Regions from separate parts of the Homo sapiens genome. Here region 1 is linked to region 2. Evidence: promoter capture Hi-C in 16 types of primary human blood cells and fetal thymus (Javierre and others, 2016). All regions are on one chromosome and are shown on one strand. The core of a region is centred on a gene start or on the middle of the fragment in contact, and the rest is flanking DNA. Distances in the headings are between cores, read along the strand shown.

Region 1 (5,628 bases), core at 3,096-5,595, 220 kb before region 2:
AAATGGTTTGCTCAAGGTCAGACGGAGTGGTACCCAGCGAGGTGTCAGGTTTACAGGTCAAATGTCCGTTTTTGATGCATCCAATCAAGGGACAGCCTACTATAGTCTTCAGGCCAAATATGGCTTACTGTCTGTTTTTGTAAATAAAGTCTCACTGGAGCACAGTGACACCCCTTTGCTTGTATATTATCTATGGCTGCTTTTGTGCTCTAAAGGCAGAGTTGACTAGTTGCAAAAAAGACTGTATGGCTCATGAGGATGACAATATTTCCTATCTGGCCCCTTACAAATTTTACCAACCCCTGCATTAGGTCACCTTCCCACAAATATGATCCCCGTTATGAACCCTATTCTTGAAAACCATAAAGCTATCATGGGGGGTAGCAGCATTCAAATGCCTGCTAGCTTCAGAATCAGGGCCTGATAATTAGAAAGGCCATTATCTTCTGCAGGATTACTATATCGACCACTGGGTCCCCCGCAAAGGTAGATGGCAATTTTTAGGTGGTATACAGCATCAGTGGTGTCTGTCACTTACCCTGAAATTTTAACGTGTCTCACAGCCATAAAAAGCCTGGGGTCACTGGGAGGGGGCATGCATAATGCCACAGGACTGCAACACACAGAGGGAAGCTGAAAGCAAAAAGAAAAGAAGAGGTTAAGTGAAGGGGCAAATGGTGATGCTTCAAAAGCAACACAGACACACGAGCCTTTGGTATCCCTCATTTACATACCACATTTACCTTCAGTATATAATCATGTATCTAAGCATCTATTTTATCCTTTGCCTTCTAGAATCAGCATTTGACCTAGCTCACAACCTGAATTACAGGAGGAGGATGCAAAATGTTATGTAGGTGAGTAAAACTGTCACTCTTGAAGGCACTGACATCCACTTAGGAAGTTAAGTTCCTTTATCTTCCGTACCATAATTTCTATTTCTTTTCTTTTTTCTGAGACAGGGTCTCGCTCTGCCACTCAGGCTGGAGTGCAGGGCACATTCAGGGCTCACTGCAGCCTCAACTTCCCAGTCTCAAGCGCTCCCAAGTACCTTGAACTATAGGTGTGCGCCACCATGCCCAAATAATTTTGGAATTGTAGTAGACAAGCTAAATTTTAGTAGGCCGGCTGGTCTCAAACTCCTGAGCTCAAGTGATACTCCTGCCTCAGCCTACAAAGTGCTGCAATTATTTTTCCAGACACAGTCTTCTTCTATCTCCAAGGCTAGAGGAGTGCAGTGGCATGATCTCGGCTCACTGCAACCTCCACCTCCCAGTTTCAAGCGATTATCCTGCCGCAGCCTCCCGAGTAGCTGGGATTACAGGTGTCCGCCACCGTGTCTGGCTAATTTTTGTATTTTTAGTAGAGACAAGGTTTCACCATGTTGGCCAGGCTGGTCTCAAATTCCTGACCTCAAATGATCCACCCGCCTCGGCCTCTCAAAGTGCTGGGATTACAGGCATGAGCCACCATGCTCGGCTTATAATTTCTTATTTCTCAAGATAAATTCTCATAATTACAGTGCTAATACATCCTGAGAAATAAGAAAAAGAAGATCCATAGGTCCAAATGATAATTTTGCCATGAGTTTTGATCTTTTAGCCTATCTCAATGCACTCAGTAGAAGAGACAGGAGGAAGTAAGTACATACATGGACACAGGCGCCCTACTAGCGAAACATACAAGCTCTCTCCTGACAGCCAAACAGAAAATCTTACTTGCCACAGTTAGCAACTCTTTTTTTTTCAGTTGCATTTCAAATGCAAAAGGAGACTGTGACACACCTTCTCATGGAAACAGTCACTCTGTTCATGTGCTGAGACTGCAAAGCTTTCATCGCTTGGTTAGGTTATTAGTAGAATATTTACCAAATCCAATTCCAAGTAAGTTGAAGTTGCTGACAGATAAGTCAACTCATCCTCAAGCACTTTCAGAAAGTTTTTGCGAATAGCTGTCAGTAGCAAGGTTTCACATGCCGGGTCTTTTCTGCATAGATCCTTGAGATAATAATGCCATCTATATGGTCCTCAAGATTAAATAAAGGACTCTCACTAATACAGAAAAAAAAAAATGGAACTATAGAATGGGTAGAAAGCCTGAGCTTTCAAGGCACGTACATGTACGTCTGTGTGCAGTGTTCTCTTTCAATAGTAAATTCAGGCAATACTTTGTGAATTTACATGTTTTTAACCTACTCAGATGGAGAAGTTGAAACTAAAAAGGAGATGCACGAAGTTTTATGATTTGAATAGTCACCTGTCTCCGGAAACTATGTGGGCTGTCTGCCTACCAGAACTCAGAAGAGAGTTAAGAGATGGTGTTCCCAGTGGGTGTCTCTTCTAGATATGAGATAAACTCAGGCCAGATTTGTCCACACTATGTTTTCTAGGTATCTGGTGTCTAGTGTGCATAAACTCTTTGCACATGACTTCTGAATCTTCATTCTTATATGAGTTTAATGTGCTGTGTGGGCATTTTCCCTCTTGAGCAAGGGAGCTTAAGAGTATGATAAGAATGCATCAAAAATGTTTTTAAGATAATTTCAGTTGGTAAAGGCTGTAATCGTTCAAACTTAATTGGTGAACTCATTAATGAGCAACTGCCACTAAAAGAAAGATGACCATTGTCATCGACTTATCAGAGCAACGAGATAATGAAGTTAATTATATTGTTTTCAGTGGATTTACACTGGCTGCCTTTTAGATTCTACATTTCCAAACATTTGTTCTGACACCCCATGAGTTTGGACTCTTAACAAAAAACTATGAGCTGTGGACTCCTCAAGGAACAGTCGGCAGATCACAGCCCCACGTCAGGGCAATGCAATTGGAAAACTTTTCTCCCCTTTATTATCTACTTGTAAAATGTTATAAGCCTGTAAACTAGTTAATTTATGAGCCGTGTTAATAATTTGCTCACACTCGATTGCAGGTTTGGCAAACACAGTTTCCAAGGGATGTGGGAGGATAATTTGTAGGTCCGGCTTCTCTCCTAAGGGGACACTAACTAATTTGACACAGTAACATGACATTGATGGCGGGGCACACTAATGACCATTCTCCAAGACAGGGCTGTCAGCCTGTCGTTCCAGTGAGACGCCGGTCTGCTTTCACCGCTGCTCAGGACTGGATGCTCAACTAATTATTCAGACAGCGACATTAATGAGAGCCCTCATGTTTATTTTCAACAGACTAACCAGCGCTTAGCTTCCATTTGTCTGATATGGTCACTGATTAAAATGTGTTTCATGAATAGTAAATTTGAACTCTAATATAACAAAGAAGCACCGGAGAAAAATAAGGAACAGCTGACTGGAAAACCAACCTCGTCCAAGCAATTTGTTTTCTGCCCCATATATCGTCAAGGACAAAGTGACAGGTAGTGGGAAATGTCATGGAGTACCAAGAAAAGTGAGTGGAGTATTTTTAATTACACATGTCTGTGGACAAGTCTGACTTTTGACTAAGGCCCCTGGATCACAATATGGCCAAGAGCAGCTTCCATCTCAAACAAACTTCACTAACTGTATGATACTGAATGAAAATTTGTGTTTTATTATTTATTCATTTATTTATTTTTGAGATGGAGTCTCGCTCTGTCACCAGGCTGGAGTGCAATGGTATGATCTCGGCTCACTGCAACCTCCACCTCCTGGGTTCAAGCAATTCTTCTGCCTCAGCCTCCCGAGCACCTGGGACTACAGGTGCCCACTGTAATGCCCAGCTAATTTTTTGTATTTTTAGTAGAGGCGGGGTTTTGCCGTGTTAGCCAGGATGGTCTGGATCTCCTGACCTTGTGATCCACCTGCCTCAGCCTCCCAAAGTGCCAGGATTATAGGCGTGAGCCACCGCGCCCAGCCCTATTATTTACTTTTTTGAGAAAGGGTCTCACTCTGTTGCTCAGGCTGCAGTGCAGTGGCATGATCTCTGCTCTTTGCAGCCTCAATCTCCCAGGCTCAAGCCATCCTCCCACCTCAGCCTCCCAAGTAGCTGAGACTACAGGCAGGTGTCACTATGTCTGGCTAATTTTTGTATTTTTTGTAGAGACAGTGTCTCACTGTGCTGCCCAGGCTGGTCTGAAACTCCTGGCCTCAAGCAATCTGCCTGCCTTTGTCTCCCAAAGTGCTGGGACTACAGGCATAAGCCATCATGCCCAGCCTGAATGAAGATATTTAAAGTTAGTATTTTCCAGGAAATGACCAAAATTTGCTTATGTGTGTTTTTTGAACCTTACAAACTTTGATCTTTGATTAGTCTATAATATGATCTTCACAAACATTAATAAATGCTGTTGTATTTTTTCCAAATCTACTGTAAAACTATACTGCTGAGGGTGTCTTAAAAAGTGTTTTTTAATGTCTTCTTTTATGTCTTGTTTCTAGTCTACTAAACCTTGTAATCAAGTTCTTTGTACTTTAAATTAAATTTCTATTTTGGTGTGATAAATTTTGTCCTTCATTTTAGGGTGATTATAATCCTAAAATATTCATATAATCATGATGTAAATGAATAACTTTAAAAAAAAAAGGTGTGTTTAGATCTATTAAAGGTGTTAAAAAATTGAAAATTTTTTCAATTTTTTATTGATATAATTCTGATATAATTCATTGTAAAATGTGCAATTCAAAATAAGTAACAGTGGTAGTATTTCAACAGATGTTCTATCTGCCATCACGGATAAAGAATTCTACTCAATATTGTGTACAACTTCTTATTTTATAAAATAGCAAAATAAATTTGAGTACACGTAGATCACTTTGGGAAGGAAAATGTCACTGCATGCAACATTTCTTAAGTATGTATTCCTAAACTTACTCACTCTGAGATAGATCTGTCATTTTAGAACGCCAAAATGCCTAAATGGCACACAACATGTGGGAAGTAGATTCAGACTGCAGGCTAATTTTTTAAATATATTTAAACAAGTAGGCAGATAAATTGTTCCAAACCAGCACGACTGTCTTTAAATGCTGCCCTTCCCAGGGGACTTGTTGGAGACAGGTTCTCAGATTATCAGCACCTCTGGGCAGTTTATGTATGGTAAACATTTGTCCTCCATAATAATACAAGAAAATGCGGTCAGTCTGTGGCAAAGACCAGCTAAACGTTCATCAAATCCATTTCTTTTTCCTGAACACACAGCTGGAATGCATTTCCCAGCATCCCTTGTAGTTAGGTGGGGCCTGGTGACTGAGTTCTAACCAAATAGATGGAAGTGGGTATACACTACTTTCATTCAGATCCTGAAGCCTCTGGCACCCTGCCTAATGACTGCTTTCTTCCCTGGATCGTGGGCGCAGAGATCCAGTAGAGAATGCCTAGTTCCTGGAGATAGTGGAGTCACTGGATGGAATTCGCCTGGGTCCCTGAAAGACTACATGGAGCAGAGCCACCACCGCTCCAGTCCCCCTCAACCAGCACTAACAGTGGGAGGTGCTCACCCATTAAACTGCACTGAGTTAAGCTCCCGAGCAGCTGGGACTACAGGCGCGTGCCATCACACCCGGCTAATTTCAAAAATTTCAAATTCTGGAATGTTGGTTACAGCTGCTAGTATCTCTTACCCAAATACATGGACCTTTCCAATTTCTCCCTGGCTTTTACTTGGGTCTCCAGGTAACCATAAGTA
Region 2 (6,217 bases), core at 107-2,606:
GGCGCCGCCGCCACCGCCGTGGTCCCCACTCGAAGCGCACGCCGCCTCGGCTCGCTGGCTCCAGGGAGTCGTCTCGGCGGGACAGGAATAGAGCGCAGGGAGCTCGGGAGGAAGGCTGCGCGCAAGCGAGGGACGGAGAGCCATCGGCCGCCAGGACAGGGCCGGAGGGACGAGGCGACACGCGCGCGACGCAGGACAAATCGGAGCTTGGGAAATCTCCCCGTCCCCCAAGCTTCAGAGGGGGGTAAAATCAGAAAATGTGTGTGATGGTGGGAGAGAGATCCGGGCGCGGCGACTCCTCGCAGCGCATCCGGCTCCCGCACCCACCCGTGGATCTGGCCACGGCTGTTGCGGACTCGTCTCGGGAAAGCGGAGGCCGAGCGCGCGTAGGGGTGCGTGTCTGGCTGGGGGTGCGCAGGTGCGTGTTTGAATTTTCCGGGCTCCGAGGGGGTGGCGGGAGAGCTTCCTCGCCGCTGACTCTCGGGGTAACGCGCGCGTGGCAGCGGGGAAGTTCCCCAGTGCGGGGCCCAGGGCCAGGCACCACAGTCAGTTTGCTGGGGCCCGCGGGGCAGCTCAAGGGCACCGAGGGGGCACACACCCGCGGGGAAAGAAGGGGAAAAGTTTGCTCCAAGTCTAAACTTTGGGCCTAGGAGGCGCCCGGCGCGCGCCCCCTCCCGCCGCGGCCAGGACCCGGGACCCCGCACCGGCCCCGCGCCCGGGCGGCCACCGGACGCCAACGCCGGACATCGAAAGTTGCGCCAGGCGGCCTGGGCTTATTGATTTCTCTCCCCTAGGCGATCGTGGAGAGCGCAGAGAGAGGCGTGAAGGGGCCTACGGGCAGGCGATCTCGCCTCCTCACAGTCGCCACCGCCCCCGCCCCCATTTGACTTATGCAAATAAACCCAAAGGGTGCGGGCGCCGCCGGAGCTCCCTCCACCCGCGCGCCGGCCCGCAGCCCCCACCCATCCCAGAGCTGGGCCTCGACCCGGGGGGGAGAGGAAGAGAGGGGAGGGCTGGGGGAGATGCACGTGGAGCCTGGAGGTGGAAAGTAGTTGTTTTTTTTTTTCCATTTTTTTTCTCTTTTTCTTTCTTTCTTTTTTTTTTTTTGTGCTGGTTGTTGTTGTTGTTTAAAGTGGCGGAAACAAGACAGGAGGCGGCTTGGGAAAAAGTGGAGCAGAAATGGAAAAATACAAACTCACCCGCTGCAAATGGTCTCTCGGTGCAAACTAAGGTGTTTTCGGGCCTTTCCCCGCGCGCGCCCACTCCCGCCCGCGCGCGCACCCCGCGCACACACTCACTCGCGCACACACGCGCGCACACACGCACTCCCGGGCGAGGGCCGGGCCGCCGCGAGTACAGCGTGCAACCGCCACACAATAAATAACAATAGATTCCTCCGCTCCGGACTAGCTTCCCGGAGCCCAGCCAGCGCCGGTGGCGGCGGCGGCGGCGGCAGAGGCGCGGGCAGCACCGGCCCGGGGGCGCACCCCGGCCCGACCCTCTACCTCCCGCAGGGGTCCCCTCTCCGCTTCACGCACCCCGCTGGGCACTCCAGCGGCCCCCCGAGCGGGAGCGGCTCCCTCTTTGCCGTTCGCCGGGGCGCTGGCGCCCACCCCCCTCCTCCCTCCCCCCTCCCCCCCGACATCCCGGAACAAATAAATAAATAAGGCGCGCGAGAGAGGCCAACACGTCGCGGAGGGAGATGTTGTTATTTTTTGCTGTTGTGCGTCCCTGACGTCACATCCACCTGCTGGGTAAACAACCGGGCTCCCAGAAAAAAAAAATCGCAATTGCCAAAGAATGGGGGGGGGGGTTGGGGGGAGGGATCCAGGGAGGGGGAAGTGAGGGGCGTCCAGGCAGGATTGGAAAGAGGAGAGGGAGGCAGAGCCCCGCGGACCAGAGAGAGGAAGGGAACGCCAGAGCAGTCCCTGGCAACAGAGGGATCTGGCAGGAAAGACCTGGAAAATAAGGGGCAGGGGGGCGGAGGGGGAGATTCCTCAGGAGATGGGAAATGGGGGGCCCATTCAGACAGCGGAAAAAACGAGAAGGGAGAGTGTTAACTAGGGACGAAGATGGGAATGCGATGGCTATTTGCTTGGATTCTGAGCTAAAAATATGAAAGGGAGGGGAGAGGACAGGCTAGAATGTGAGTTTCCTCCAGTTAAAAGTGAAAGTGTTTTGCCATCAGTGACAGTTGAAGGAGAGCGGGGTGGGAGGTGGTGTTTTCAACCCCCTTTCTCCCTCTCTCCCGTCCTCCCTCGGTCTCTCCTCTTTCTTTCTGCACTTTGTCCAATGAAAGAAGGCGAGTTCGGGAGGTGAAAGTTCAGCAGAAGGACAAACCCCTGTTTGCAAGGAAACAGAAACCCCGCCAGCCAGCGAGGGGTTTTCTCCCCTGTTTCTCGGAATCAGGAGAGTGTGAATGTGGGACGAGCTTCTGCCCCCTTGTCAGAGCCACTGCAGGAATGTGCAATCGAGTCCACTTTGGGGGAAGGTGGCTGCATCAGGAACTGTGTTCTTGCCACGACTCCTCTTAGGAAAACGCCTGGGGGCTAGCATGTCAGTCCGTTGTTTAACACAAATTACCTGCTCTCCCAGTGATCAGTCACGTGCAAAAAGCTTTGTCCAATTCTTTGAAAAGGTGAGATTTTTTTTTTTCTTTTTGCGGTTTTTGAAGTTTGGTTGAATTTAGAAATTCGAAGGAATAAACTAAGAGCCTGAATTAAATGTTTTGAAATATACATACATAAAACAAAAGACACTAGTATTTCTTTCACTTTTATCAATACGCATAGAGAAGGAAGCAGAGTATGTGTTTCCAAAACGTGACTTGGAAAGCTGTAAGACCTCTATGTCTTGTTGTTGTTGTTGTTGTTGTTGTTAACAGAAGTAAATTTTTTCAGACCCACCACCACAGAAGTGGCCAGACTCCCAAACCAGCATTTCCAGCTACTGGCTGGCTGGTGTACACCAGGCCAATTCTTTATGAGAATATATTAAAAGTCACCCCTGTGGATTCCTACAAAGTACTTCCCCTTGCGGGGAGGGGAGAGGCTTACTGTCCCTTTGGTCTTGAGACCAGCACAGTTGTAGATAATATCCTGAAAAGGTTATTATTAAATTCTTTCGCGTAATGCCCCTTTACAAATATTGTTAAACATTAATTTACAGAAGAACTTAAATCTTAATTTCAAGGGTGGCATAAGACTATCGCTTTGAAATTGTATCTTTCGCAAGTTAAAAAAAAAAAATAACAAAGCCATTCGCTGATGCTACAGAATAAAAGAAAGGGAGGCTGCTAAGGTAATTTCAGCCTGGTAGAATTCACATTGCATGCATGCTGCATAAAGTTCCATGCTATCCAGATAAGACTATTCACTGAATCTTTTAGACTAGAATCTAGACCAATAAAATGCATTTTAGTTTGTATGGAATGTCCTAGCTTCCTAGAGGCTAGGGTTCGACGTCTTGTTTGTCAAGACATAAAGGGATTAATGACATACCCACTGTGTGCTAGACCACAGAGTGGGCACAGAGGGATGAAAAAATAAAAATTCCTGCCCTTGAGGAGCTCACAGTCTAAGCTGTCAATAATAACATCTAACATTTATTAAATACTATGATCTAGGCACTGAACTAAAAGCTTTATGTCAACTCAGTTAATACTGCCAACAACTCTTTGACATCACTGGAAATTCCATATGCTGAATTCACACGGAATTAAGTGGAAATCTACAAAGTAGCCAGTCTACTGGTTCTGTAGTGGTCAACCTATTAAAAATGGTTTTTAATTTCTAAAGTACTTTATGCCAAATATAACATGTTTATGGTATATGCCTGACTGTAGAATTATAACTCAGGGGAATAACGACTTATTTAAATGTAACAGATCTATTCATAGTCTGTAAAGAACAATTCATCCTCTGATCTTGTTTTTCAGATTAAGCAGTGTGTTTATTAAAAATTATTATCATCGCAATACTAAAAAGATCTTTAGATTGCTGCTAATCTGATTCTGCATTTTAACTGCCTTAAATTCTACATTCACTTGCAAGTGGGGGCCACAGTCAGGTTGGCAACAAGTTTTGCAGACAAAAGGAAATCCTGGTTGTAAATCCCATGATATATTGTACTCAATTTTGTATGATACTGTCTAATGTGCTGTGCTGCCTTATTAAAGAACTCGATGTCCATTTGGTTTACATTAGAGGGAAACTTAACTGCAGCTTAACATATTGTTCATTTTCAACACTGTCACGTTACATTCGTGGGGGGCAGATTTTAATTTCTTTATCAGTAATCAACTGGAAGTTTCTTTTTGTTAAATTAAAGCAAGAAAGGTTTTAAAATAAAGGGCATGGGGGTAGGACGCCACCTTTTGGTGATAAAACAAATAGAAATCCCTTCTGAAAACAGATGTTCCTGACATAATTTTATTTTTAATTACACCAAGGCAAAGGTGCTTGTCCCCATTTCGTTATATTTTAAGTAACAGGAGAAAAAAAAAACCAATGTAAATGCAAAATTAGCAAATTATAGTTAACTGCAGCCAAAATTTTCCCAAACGTATCAGAATATGTTAGTCCCCTGTCACATTACTGTTGATTGTATACACCAAACATGAGCTTCATTCACCAAATACCATGTCACTAAATATATGTACATTTGGGGAACAGAAACTGGAGTGGACATTTACCACCTGACGACGTACCTGAATGCTCTTGTAAGTTTTGAGTTGAACAAAAACTAAAACCACTTAATTTAGTGTTTCTTTAACCACAGTTACTGGTGTCCTGATTTTTGCCATATCTATATGACATAACAGTTCCCGAATAATTAATATACCATACTCATTGGAGGCCACTTATTATGGTAATTGTAGCAAACATTTTCATTTAAATCAACCTTCTTTTAATTTTTTTCTATTACTGCCTTAAATGGGAAATCAGTATCACCCACCATAAATTAAAAACAAGCACAGTAAAAACAAAGTCACTGATTTCTCTTTGAGGGTCAAAACAAAAATTAAAAATGATTTTTGAAAAAAGGAGGGAGAGTGGCAAATGTTGAGAAGGGTTAAGGACAAGAGTATCAATGGAAATTTTTGAATTTTTGTTTTTTCTCTCTCTTTTTTTCTGTTTTTTTTTTTTTTTTTTTTTTAACAACCAGAAGGATTTAAAGTGATCGGAAAGGAATACAGTTCTCAATGTGTGATTCAGTGTTATGCCATCCTAGTGCCAAGGTTCCTACACTTTAAAAAACATGGGCATAACTAAGAATATCGCATTACAGATGAGGAATCTAAGGCCCAGGGATTTCATTTGCCCTCCAAGGCAAAATAAATTTGGTTACTGGTTGGACAAGGATTAGAATCCAGGTGTCCTGACTTTGTGGGTTTCCATCTCACTCTTTCCACTAAAGTGACCAATCCTCAGACTTAAGTGGTTTGTCTAGCTTCTCAGAAACAGCTAACCTACAGACCCCTTTACAGATCTGGGAGAAACTGAGGCCACAGAGGGTCAAGAACAAGTTCAACCCCCTGCTCACCGTCCTTTCTCTCCACCCTCTCTCCATAGATGTGACAGACATCCAGGTGGGGGTCAACACAGCAAAGAAAGAAGGGAGGGTTGAGAAGAGAAAAGTGGATTCAGAGAGGGGAGGTTAGTAAGCGTGGGCAGACCATTCTCTAAATGAAAGCTTAAACTCAGTTGCCTTCCAAGAAGATAAAAATGGCTAATGAAAATCATGTGCTTCACAGTAAGTGGTAAGAGGAGCCCATCCTCTGTGTCCTCATGTCCCTATATGTCCACACCGGAAATCAGCAGGGGATCTCTTGTTTTAAAGTATACAATATTAACAGGCACACTCTGAGACAAAACCACATTTGATAATTTGAGTGGGTGGAAAAGCTAGTCAGGGAACGGGGAATGACCCTAGCTTAAAAAGTGTTTTCCCCCACAACAAAACTTAAGAGGCTCAGAGTTAAATCTAGAAACAATAGTGCTTTTTCTGTTTTTCTAACTGGAGAGTGAGACCTTAGTTACCAAGACTGCACTTGCTGCTTTTTTTTAAAGTATGCAGTTATATAAACATAAATAAATATGGCCTGCAAATATTTTTATGTTTTTCTAAATTGGTGATTGTGAAAAGAGGTTGTGCATGACTGTACTGTATGAACATGGGTCTCAGTGGACTGTAATCCTCATAAACTACAAGGTAC

Evidence for each region. Contacts are between HindIII fragments. The CHiCAGO score rates a contact against its expected background, and 5 or more counts as called.
Region 1: a contact is called between a fragment that was not itself captured here and the fragment with the promoter of FOXP1 in region 2, in 2 of 17 cell types (total B cells and naive B cells). The highest score is 6.3, in total B cells.

What each region holds. Positions count from the first base shown.
Region 1 is chr3:71,358,612-71,364,239 of GRCh38, forward strand. It overlaps FOXP1 (forkhead box P1), which reads right to left. Exons shown (of 21, transcript NM_001349338.3): 4 at 539-633. Among named protein-coding and RNA genes, the nearest start is that of FOXP1-AS1, 72 kb to the left of the region's middle. The HindIII fragment of the contact is 5,034 bases long and covers 1,829-5,628 here.
Region 2 is chr3:71,582,372-71,588,588 of GRCh38, forward strand. It overlaps FOXP1 (forkhead box P1), which reads right to left and starts at 1,357. Exons shown (of 21, transcript NM_001349338.3): 1 at 1,200-1,357. FOXP1-DT (FOXP1 divergent transcript) reads left to right here and starts at 2,572. Exons shown (of 1, transcript NR_182289.1): 1 at 2,572-5,038. RefSeq lists a silencer at 1,230-1,469 and an enhancer at 1,547-1,841. The HindIII fragment of the contact is 2,384 bases long and covers 231-2,614 here.